Regions from separate parts of the Homo sapiens genome. Here region 1 is linked to region 2. The links are contacts of gene promoters, found by promoter capture Hi-C in blood cells and fetal thymus (Javierre and others, 2016). All regions are on one chromosome and are shown on one strand. The core of a region is centred on a gene start or on the middle of the fragment in contact, and the rest is flanking DNA. Distances in the headings are between cores, read along the strand shown. Region 1 has its middle 57 kb from the start of SLFN5. Region 2 holds the start of SLFN5 (schlafen family member 5).

Region 1 (5,955 bases), core at 1,105-3,604, 56 kb after region 2:
CACATGTTATGGGAGGGACCCAGGGAGAGGTAGTTTAATGATGGAGGCCGTCTTTTCCCATGCTATTCTCATGATAGTGAATAAGTCTCATGAGATCTGATGGGATTATCAGGGGTTTCCTCATTTGCTTCTAGCTCATTTTCTCTTGCCACCACCATGTAAGAAGTGCCTTCACTTCCCGCCATGATTCTGAGATTTCCCCAGCCATGTGGAACTGTCCCAATAAACCTCCTTTTCTTCCCAGTCTTGGGTATGTCTTTATCAGCAGCATGAAAACAGACTAATATAGTAAATTGTTACCAGTAGAGGGGTATTGCTGAAAAGATACCAGAAAATGTGAAAGTGATTTTGGAGCTGGGTAACAGGCAGAAGTTGGAACAGTTTGGAAGCCCCAGAGGAAGACAGGAAAATGTGGGAAAGTTTGGAACTTCCTAGAGACTTGTTGAATGGCTTTGACCAAAATGCTGATAGTGATATGGACAATAAGGTCTAGGCTGAGGTGGTCTCAGATGGAGATGAGGAGCTTGTTGGGAACTGGAGTAAAGGTGGATCTTGTTATGTTTTAGCAAAGAGGCTGGTGGCATTTTGCCCCTGCCCTAGAAATTTGTAAAACTTTGAACTTGAGAAAGATGATTTAGGGTATCTGGTGGAAGAAATTTCTAAGCAGCAAAGCATTCAAGAGGTGACTTGTTAAAGGCATTCAATTTCATAACAGAAGCAGAGCATAAAAGTTTGGAAAGTTTGCAACCTGACTATGCAATAGAAAAGAAAACCCCATTTTCTGGGGAGAAATTCAAGCCAGCTGCAGAAATTTGCATAAGCAGTGAGGAGCCTACTGTTAATCCCCAAGACCATGGGGAAAATGTCTTTAGGCCATGTCAGAGACCTTCACAGCAGCCCCTCCCATCACAGGTCTGGAGGCCCAGGAGGAAAAAGTAGTTTCCTGGGCTGGACAGAGGATCCCTGTGCTGTGTGCAGCCTAGGGACTTTGACAGAACAGGAGCATCACCATCTTGGACAAACACCACCATTCTAAAGTTCCCCTTAATCAAAAACCACCTAAATCCACAGGGCATCAGCCTAAAGGCTAAGGCCAGCATGACCATAAACCATAAATGACATCTCTGACCAGAAACATTTCAACCATAAGATAAACCCCTCCCCAGAGAGATGTCAGCCCCAAGACAACCTCCCCTCCTACCAGAGACATTCCAAACCCACAATAAACTTCTTCCCCACAAAGAAACATTCCAAGCCTATGATAAGCTCTCTCACCCTAAAATCAACAAATACGCTTAATCTGTAAGAGAGTGTGCTCCTGACCAAAATCAGCCAGAAGCCCCTCTCAGGTTTATTCTCCAAAATAAACCTGTCTTTGACTGGTGAGTCACTTTTCGTGTTTCTTTCCTCTTTCTTTAACTCTTACATTTGCTGCCAAAACTCAGGATGGGTGCTGGGGGTAGAGGTTCTCCTGCAACCCAAAAAGCAGTGGACAGCAGCTGCTCATCCTGCTGGATCCTGAGAGTCTCTGGCCACCCATCTTGTCTTGTCTCTCACTTCACTTTTCTAGCAATTTGTCTGAGGAGGACAACTAACCTGAAGGGGACTGTGAGGCTCAGGCTGGGGCAAATCTCCAGTGAACCCTCAAAGCCCTCAGGTCTTAGGAATCCACCTCTGGCTGCCCACAATGGGTATTTTGCTCTCTTCCCTCCTCCCTCATCCTCTTCTCTCTCTCTCTCTCTCTCTCTCTCTCTCTCTGTCTCTCTCTCCCTCTCTTCCTTGTGAAGCTCTAGTCCAAGGGGCCCTTTGCCAATTCCAATCAGAACATCCAACATCGGACACTAATCCAGCTGACTAGTAAGATCTGCCCTCTCCTGACTTTCTCACAGCACCTGGGAGAGTCAGGTCAGCTGTCCCGGTCCTCAGAGGACCAGTGGGACTAAGCTAGAAGAAATCTTGGAGATGCCCAGTTTCTTCGCAGCTTGATCATCCTCTTTATAAAGAGGATTCCAGGTTTCTGTCTTTTATCTGTGGATGCCTAGAACAAAAACAGACACCTTCAGCTTCCTCTTACCAGTCCACATGGGTGCCAAACAATCCCACTTTCCTAAGTCCTCTCCATTGGGCTGTCTCCTTCACAATGTTGCTAAGCTTGGCTTAAAGGAAGCATAAAGCCAAAGAGTATGCTTTTTTATTGCAACATGGCCTGGCCCCAATACAAATTAGATAATGACAGCTGGTAGCCTGAAAATGGCACCTTTGACTTTCAAATTCTCAGGGACCTTGACAACTTTATAACTAGGAACAGCAAATGGCAGGAGGTTCCCTATATTCAGGCTTTCTTTTACTTTAGATCCCAACCCTCCCTGTGTCAAACTTGCACCCCTCATGAAGTCTTTCTTCTTAATGATAACCTTCCCCAGGTCTCTCCTTTCTCTGAAACTCCTTCCTCCAAAACCCCTTTGACCCTGCAGATGAACCCCCTCCATATTCTTATCCCCCTGCATCTGCTCCTCAACCTATCTGAATCCTCCACTTCAGTGACGCCTCCTGCCCGCAAGCTTTCAGCTCCAAACCCTGCTCCTTCTCCTTCTCCATCTGTTACCCATTCAAAAACTGCTCCAACCAGTCAAACCACCCTGCCATTCTCCGTCTCCAGGAAGTGGCTGCGGTTGAAGGCATTGCTCCCATTCATGCCCTTTCTCCACATCTGATTTGTCGCAGATCAAACAGTGCCTGGGATCTTTCTCTGAAAATCCCCCTGACTAGTGCAGGGAATTCCTGCACATAACCCAATCCTTTAATTTAACATGGCATATTTATATAATTCTAACCTCCACCCTCACCCCTGATGAAAAACAGCTCTCAATTTAATTAAAATGAATATTCAAGCTATGAGTATATTCAAAAGGCCTTTATGTTTTTCTCTTCATAAATCTTGTTTTCCTGGAAAAGGTTTTTTTCCCCAGTCAACTGAATTACTTTTCTCCACTCTGTCTTACCACTCTTGGTGCATATATGAAAAATCCCAAAATGACTTCTGGTGGCCTGGGACTCCTTGGGAAAACAGAAAAGCTGCCACAAATCCCGTTTTGGGAAAAAATCTGTTTTCCTTATGGAACCCCTGGAATTAAAGATGAATAAGTACCTCTCAAAATCTGTCTTTGTCTTCCAGCTATGCTTGTTTATTAGGCCCTGGAAACTGTTTTCATAGCCCTGTTCTTAAAGGGTCTCACCCAAAGGCCAGTGATCCAATTGGGAAAGGGGCAAAAAAAAAAAAAATTCTAATTACTGGATCTTCTTCTGGTTGTCTGTGTGGCTATGTATGTGTTATGTGTGCAATGCCTATTTAAAAAGCTCTAATTAATTGACCTAAGAAAAATAAGCACTTAAATCAAATATTTTTAACAGAAAAGTAAAAGCTGTGGGACCTTTCAGTTCATGTGACTTTAATCTTTAAAACTTACTAGTACAGTAAGATTAGAAATGTCTTAAAAGTTTCCAGCATACATTTTTGTTTGCATTTATTAATCAAGCAATTTCATAGTTATCTCTGCCAAATACTATAAGATGTGAAAATTTTGCATAGAGGCCACAAAACTATAACTCAGCCCAAACAGAATAATCTTTGCTTCTGTAATTTTTTAATCAATGAAACATTAATATTGGTTTAATAAAGATAGCTACATCTTGAACTATTTAGTGAAATACCCTAACTTCTAATCTTGATATTAAAGAAAAAAGAATTTATGGCCAGGCACAGTGGCTCACGCTTGTAATCCCAGCACTTTGGGAGGCCGAGGCAGGTGGATCACGAGGTCAGGAGATTGAGACCATCCTGGCTAACATGGTGAAACCCCGTCTCTACTAAAAATACAAAAAATTAGCCAGGTGTGGTGGCAGGTGCCCATAGTCCCAGCTACTCGGGAGGCTGAGGCAGGAGAATGGCATGAACCCAGGAGGCAGAGATTGCAGTGAGCTGAGATCGCGCCACTGCACTCCAGCCTGGGTGACAGAGCAAGACTCTGTCTCAAAAAAAAAAAAAGAAAAGGAAAATTTATATAAAAAAGAATCTTATATGGTAAATTCTTGTCCTAAAGTAAATTAACTGGTTGTTTAAGGAGAGGGATGTTTACAAGTCAGAAAGTCAAGGCATGTCAGAGATTGTCTGTGTAAGTCATGAAAAATTTTATAAAAGGGAGAGTATGGACAAGATGGATGAATAGGAACAGCTCTAGTCTGCAGCTCCCAGTGAGATCAGAGCAGAAGTCAGGTGATTTCTGCATTTCCAACTGAGGTACATGGCTCATCTCACTGGGACTGGTTGGACAGTGGGTGCAGCCCATGGAGGGTAAGCCAAAGCAGGATGGGGCGTTGCCTCTTCTGGGAAGCACAAGGGGTCAGGGAACTCCCACCCCTAGCCAAGGGAAGCCATGAGGGACTGGGCCATGAGGAATGGTACATTCTGGCCCAGATACTATGCTATTCCCATGGTCTTTGCAACCTTCAGACCAAGAAATTCCTTCGGGTGCCTACACCACCATGGCCCTGGATTTCAAGCACAAAACCAGGCAGCCATTTGGGCAGACATTGAGCTAGCTGCAGGAGTTTTTTTCATACCCCAGTGGCACCTGGAACCCAGCAAGATAGAACCATTCACTTCCCTGGAAAGGGGGCTGAAGCCAGGGAGCCAAGGGGTCTAGCTCAGCAGATCCCACCCCCCATGGAGCCCAGCAAGCTAAGATCCACTGCCTTGAAATTCTCTCTGCCAGCACAGCAGTCTAAAGTTGACCTGGGATGTGTGAGCTTGGTGGGGGGAGGGGGGTCCACCACTACTCAGGTTTAAGTAGGTGGTTTTCCCCTCACAGTGTAAACAAAGCCTCTGGGAAATTGAACTTGGTGGAGCCCACTGCAGCTCAGCAAAGCTACCGTAGCTAGACTGCCTCTCTAGATTCCTCATCTCTGGGCAGGGCATCTCTGAAAGAAAGGCAGCAGCCCCAGTCAGGGCCTTATAGATAAAACTCCCTTCTCCCTGGGACAGAGCACATGGGGGAAAGGGGCAGCTGTGGCCACAGCTTCAGTGGACTTAAACTTTCCTGTCTGCCGACTCTGAAGAGAGCAGCAGATCTCCCAGCACAGCACTCGAGCTCTGCTAAAAGACACATTGCCTCCTCAAGTGGGTCCCTGACCCCCGTGCCTCCTGACTGGGAGACACCTCCTAGCAGGGGTCAACAGACACCTCATACAGGAGAGCTCTGGCTGGCGTCTGGTGGGTGCCTTTCTGGGATGAAGCTTCCAGAGGAAGGAGCAGGGAGCAACCTTTGCTGTTCTGCAGCCTCCACTAGTGATGCCCAGGCAAACAGGGTCTGGAGTGGACCTCCAGGAAACTCCACCAGATCTGCAGCAGAGGGGCCTGACTGTTAGAAGGAAAACTAACAAACAGAAAAGAGTAGCATCAACATCAACAAAAAGGATGTCCACACAAAAACTCCATCCAAAGGCAACCAACATCAAAGACCAAAGGTAGTTAAGTCCACAACAATGAGGAAAAACCAGCGCAAAAAGGCTGAAAATTCCAAAAACCAGAATGCCTCTTCTCCTCCAAAGGATTAGAGCTCCTCACCAGCAAGGGAACAAAACTGGACAGAGAATGAGTTTGATGAATTGACAGAAGTAGGCTTCAGAAGGTGGGTAATAACAAACTCCTCCGAGCTAAAGGAGCATTTTCTAACCCAATGCAAGGAAGCTAAGAACCTTGAAAAAAGGTTAGAGGAATTGCTAACTAGAATAACCAGTTTAAAGAAGAACACAAATGACCTGATGGAGCTGAAAAACACAGCATGAGAACTTCATGAAGCATACACAAGTATCAAAAGCCAAATCAGTCAAATGGAAGAAAGGATATGAGAGATTGAAGATCAACTTAATGAAATAAAGTGTGAAGACAAGAATAGA
Region 2 (5,701 bases), core at 3,202-5,701:
TCCTGTTACTAATGATGTTAACTTTGATCACTTGGTTGAGGTGATATATTCCAGGATTCTCTGGAAAATTAGTGTCTTTTTCCTTTGTAATAAATAGAGCATCTTGTGGGGATATGCTTTGAGACTCTGTAATTACCCTCAGTGTGCTAAAGATCTGAGGGGATATAGAGAGAAAATTCTGAGTCACACTTTCATTTCATGTAGCTGAAAAAGCAACTTAAACATTGGACTTGACTGAAATTAAGCTTGGACTTAACTGAGCTCCTTCAGGAAAAGCTTAATTACTTACTGAGACAGGAAAATCATCAGGACACTCTCGGATCTCAATGTGGGTACTGGGAGTGCCAGAGAACCAAGATTCTCCCTCCCACTCTCTCTGATGTGTGTGATTCATATGAACATTGATAAAGGATGTCTCATCCCTCCTTCAAGTAAACTTGTTCTGACAAAATTTCACCACACTTTGTCAAATGGCAAACATTGTTCCTAAGAAACATCATATACGTGTTTATGCAAATTTTGTTTTTTAAACTTTTTATCAAGAAAAGAAAAAAAGTGGAAAATATGTTTTTGCCTGAAAAGTGAATATTATAAACAAGTAGCTTGGGTTTGAAAGATAGTCTGTGGAAACACAGATAAGGCTCTATGCTAAGATGCTTGCTGCTATAATCCTCAGTCCCCTAGTAAAAGTTTCTGCAAAAAGCTTGGCCAGCCATGATGCCATTGAGCATTGACCCCCATAATCAATCTCCCTGTGACTCTCACGGAGAATGCTGAAGCAAATTTTCTGTAGTGAGGGATCTGTAGACCATGGCATGCAGCCTCCAGTCTCACTGTGCAGACTGAGGACAGTGACACAGGTCATTGACACACGGCTGACCTAGGCAGTGATTCTCCCTACACTAATACAGTGATTCTTTCTGTGAGAGACTGCCTGCCCTTAATAAGATAACATGCCCCTTTGGCCGGGCACAGTGGCTCACGCCTGTAATCCCAGCACTTTGGGAGGCCGAGGCGGGCGGAACATGAGGTCAGGAGACTGAGACCATCCTGGCTAACACAGTGAAACCCCGTCTCTACTAAAAATACAAAAAAAAAAAAAATAGCTGGGTGTGGTGGCGGGCACCTGTAGTCCCAGCTACTCAGGAGGCTGAGGCAGGAGAATGGCATGAACCTGGGAGGTAGAGCTTGCAGCGAGCCAAGATCGAGCCACTGCTCTCCAGCCTGGGTGACAAAGCGAGATTCTGCCTCAAAAAAAAAAAAAAAAAAAAGAATAACCTGCCCCTTTAACCTACCAACTCTCTTCTCCTCTTTAGTTTGTTGAAGCAAAAACAACGTAAATATTGCATTAACCAAGTGTGTGTATGAGAGAGAGAGAGAGAGGAGAGAGAGAGAAGAGAGAGAGAGAGAGAGAATGAGCAGTTATGGCTCTTGGCATTTTTTACTGGACAAGGCAAACCTAAAGATTTTACTTTTAAACTTGAATTAATGCTGAGAGTAAGTCACATCTGCCCTCACTTCCCTCCCACTCCACACAAACATGCATACCACTGGAAAGGCAACATTTTATCAAAGGCATTTGGCGTTTTTCCTCTCTTATGACCCTCTAGAAGCTTGAGAATGTGGGAGAGAAGGGCTGGAACCAGAAATGGAGAAGTAGTGCTGGAACAATAATGACCTGAAAGCCAGTGGAACTGAGGTCTCCTGCAGGAACTTTTGGGGAGGCCTGGATACTTTGGAGACCAATGGGTATGGATGGAAAGAAGAGCAGAAATGATTCAGCTCATAAAGCAGTGAAAAGGAATGATCTAAGTACATGAACAAATCTTTAAAGCAAAATGTTAAAGTGTGGGAGCAAGTTCTACAGAACACATACAATATGATACTTTTTTTTTTTTTTTTAAAGAGACAGGGTCTCACTCTATTGCCCATGCAGGGGTGCAGTGGCACAATCAGAGCTCATAGCATCCTTCAACTCCTGGGCTCAAGCCATCTTCCCACTTCAGCCTCCTGAGTAGCTGGGACTTCATAGGCAGGCACCACCACACCCAGCTAATTTAAAACAATTTTTTTGGCTGGGCGCGGGGGCTCACACCTGTAATTCCAGCACTTTGGAAAGCCGAGGCAGGCAGATCATGAGGTCAAGAGTTCGTAGACCAGCATGGCCAATATGGTGAAACCTTGTCTCTACTAAAAATACAAAAATCAGCTGGGCGTGGTGGGATGTGCCTGTAGTCCCAGCTACTTGGGAGGCCAAGGCAGGAGAATTGCTTGAACCCCGGAGGCCGACATTGCAGCAAGCCGAGATTGCGCCACTGCACTCCAGCCTGAGTGACACAGCAAGACTCCGTCTCAAACAAACAAACAAACAAACAAACAATTTTTTTTTTTTAGAGATAGGGTCTTGCTATGTTGCCCAGGCTGGTCTCAAACTCTGGGCCTCAAGCCGTCTTCCCTCTCAGCCTTCCAAAGTGCTGGAATTACAGTCGTGAGTAACTGCACCTGGCCAACATGATGCCATTTACATGCAGCTTAAACGCATATACATGTGTTGAATCAGTGTCATGTGTTGATGAGGGACATAAACACATTTACTAAAAGTATAAACAGTTGCATGGGAATTAGTAACTTTAAATTCATAAAATTGTACTGGCTATCAGGTGAGTAGGGGACAAGTGGAATGAGGGAATGAGACCAGCTGGGTACCCAAATATTGCTAATGTTATTGCTTAAGCTGTGTGGTGAATACACAGGTGTTCAATTTACTATTATTTCGCACTTTCCGTGTACTTTAGCTATTTGACAATACATTTAAAAATCGAAAACTTATCCCATAATCCCAGGCTCCAGAGGTGATAGTAGGTGGTGTTTTCCAGACCTTTCCCGCTGCCTTGATTTTCTGTTAACTGGCCACCATCCTTGTCTCCTCGCGCTGCCGGTCGCTGCAGAACCCCTGCGCGGAGGGACTGCCAGTTCCCAGGAAGGTGCAGGACAGCTGGAGCCTCTTCTTCTCTGGGCAGGGATTTAAATGTTCTTGGGTAGCCTCGCCAGAGACCTGTGCGGCCCTACAGTGACCTTCTTTCCAGCCACTTTCCCATGAGCTCAAAGCTTTGGATTCTGTCACTTGCAAAGGGTCAGGCCTGATCCCTTGCGGGTTCTTGAGAAGTGAGTAAGACTTCCAGCGCCCCGGCCCAGACTGCGACGACCCAGACTGCGACGACCCAGTCTGCGCCTGGCGCAGGCTCCATAGACGGCTTTTCTTCAGCTCTGTCCACTGAGACCTCGAGCCCTTGAGCAGAAGATGGGAGAGAGAGGGTCTTGCTGGGCGGGCTCCAGAAGTCCTCCTGGCTCTGGGCGCAGGAGTTGGAAGAGAAGAGATAGAGAAACATCTACTCACCAGAATTGTAAACTGGAAGAAGGGTAGAGGAAAGGTGCCTAGAGAGGGCAGCTGGAATCAGGATTGGGCTGAATATTTTAGGAGTCCCCAAGTGCTACTTCTATCCGCTGGGAGCACGGGTTCGAATCTGCCCCCAGGCAGCCCGCTCCTGGTTCTCTTGTCCCCCTGTGCTGCGGCGGGGCCCACTTCGGCCCTCGGGTTCCCCGCACAGGCCACACAGGGCAGCAGCGCGCGCCGTACCCACGGGCAGTTCGAGAGGGCCGCGCGTGGCGGAGCCAGGCCCTTCGCCAGCGCCCAGTACAAATTTAGTACTAGAATTAAGAGAAACACACTGAAATCTGACAGCCCCGCCTAAGACCCGGGCGTGAGGAAGTCTGCGGTGGGTGATGAATACAAAGAACAGTTTCTCTTTCCTGTCAGTAAAACGCTGTTTCCAGAGCCTGCCAGGTTTCGCCCCAGTGGCCACACCTATGCCTGGCAGGTGCTGGTCCGAGCCCCTAGCGCCAGCAAAAGAAAGGAGGCGGACGCAACATTCTCGAATTACTAGGAGAAGGAGGGAGGCTTTCCCTTCCCCCCAGTGCCCCATGTACCAACGCGTCTCGCCATACCCCTTGCCCCTCTTCCAGCAGCTGACGGAGTAATTCGAGTAGGAATCGAAAGATTTGGAGGCGCCGGGGGAGAAACCTGCGGAGCGCTCTCCGAGCCTGTGGCGTCCCAGGAAGACTCCGAGCGGGGCCAGGGAAGTTCTCTGGAGGACATGGGGTGGATACCCAGGTCTCCTTCCCTGGGTGAAATAAGAACTGAAAATCTAAAAATAAAATAAATAAAATAAAATAGAAAACACAGAGAAGCAACAAAAAAGCGCTTCCCCTCCTCAGTTCTCCCCAGTCCACCCAAGGTTTACCAAGACTGTTGTAGTTGCAAGAGTGGGCTTCCGGCTCCACGTAACGATGCGATTGGGCTGTACCTCTGTCTGTCTCCTGCGCGATGTCCCGCCCCGGGAGGTGTCACGGAACTCAGCTGATATAAGCCCGGGATCCCGCCGGGTCAGGTTCTCTGCTCTGGACTTGGGAGGCTCCGTTGCCTGCTCCCGGAGGGAGACGCGCTGCCGAGGAGAACCCAGCGGGTAATGAATCCCCCGCGCTTCTTTGCCCAGGCCTTCCCCAAACCTCCCCCCGGTCTGCGCGGGTTCTCCTATTGGGCTGTGGTGAAGACAAGGTGCGGCGACTGCAGCTCCCCAGGTCTGGGCGCTGCCGGGAGAGAGTCTTTCCCGCTGGGGAGATTTAGTTTGTTGACTCAGGAGCACCTCCAACGACAGCTAGTGGCAGAGGACCCGGGAGCTGGGAGGTTCGGAACGCGGGGCGAGCTGGGGAGGAGGGAGAGGCGCCGACCCAGCGCAGCCTACATCTTAGCAAACCAAACCTGGCAACATTTCCCCACGGTTCAGGAGCACGAAGGACTTAAGGGAAAACGACGAAATCGGGGCTCCCGAGGATGAAGTTAAATGGGTTGTGGCCTGGGGACAAATAGGGCCAATGTCCAGTCTATTACAAGAGGCTTTGTTCCAGAGGCTTGCCTATAAGCCCCTGGCTTGGAACGTCAGTCTTCAAACTGTAACAACAGGGGCAGGCTACTAGGGTAGCCCACAAAGCCCTGTATCCCCCATACAGTGACTAACTAGAGCCCTAGTTGGTCATATCCGCAGTGGCTGAGACTGCGGTGTGATTCCGTTTCCCTCTTGCATGTGTCCCGGGAGCCCGAGTTGTCGAAGCCCAAATTCAGGCTCAGGAACCTGATGTGCTGTTGATGCCAAACACTGACACACAGATGCTTGGAGACAGAGGAAGATTTATTCCATTTGGCCAAAGCGAGAAGGCAAGAGGTCAAGATCTCTCAAATCCACCCTAACAAAAAGAAGTAGTGGGGAGTTTTTATGAGACCAGGAAGTAAGGGAGGGGGAATTTCAGGGAACCTCGGGGAAAAGTCTTTCTTCGTCTCAGATTACATCTTGAACCACCAGACTTCTGGGCGTCAGCAGCTGGTCACAATGCCCTTAAAGGCATTCATTCCTTCTGCAAAATTTTTTTCTTGACTCTGAAGCTATATCCTCCTGCTTGACAAAGAAACGGTGCATCAGCAGTTTATAATTATATTGCTAGAAAAAGGAATATTGGGCAAAAAGTGGGTAGTTAACATATGCAAATAAGCAAGGGCCTCATCGGAATTTTCATGGTTTCATCACTAAAAATGTTGGGGTGCTGAAATCTTGAGGGGCTCGGTTGCACCAGAAGGGGATCCTTTGTC

The links. Contacts are between HindIII fragments. The CHiCAGO score rates a contact against its expected background, and 5 or more counts as called.
Region 1: a contact is called between a fragment that was not itself captured here and the fragment with the promoter of SLFN5 in region 2, in 1 of 17 cell types (non-activated CD4 T cells). The highest score is 5.3, in non-activated CD4 T cells.

What each region holds. Positions count from the first base shown.
Region 1 is chr17:35,296,648-35,302,602 of GRCh38, forward strand. No RefSeq gene overlaps it. Among named protein-coding and RNA genes, the nearest start is that of SLFN5, 57 kb to the left of the region's middle. The HindIII fragment of the contact is 410 bases long and covers 2,150-2,559 here.
Region 2 is chr17:35,238,621-35,244,321 of GRCh38, forward strand. It overlaps SLFN5 (schlafen family member 5), which reads left to right and starts at 4,452. Exons shown (of 5, transcript NM_144975.4): 1 at 4,452-4,523. LOC105371932 reads right to left here and starts at 5,531. Exons shown (of 4, transcript XM_047437262.1): 1 at 5,491-5,531; 2 at 4,302-4,599; 3 at 4,006-4,205; 4 at 1,423-3,350. The coding sequence starts at 5,531. The coding sequence ends at 2,903. RefSeq lists enhancers at 4,204-4,263, 4,784-4,893, 4,867-5,495. The HindIII fragment of the contact is 6,062 bases long and covers 3,107-5,701 here.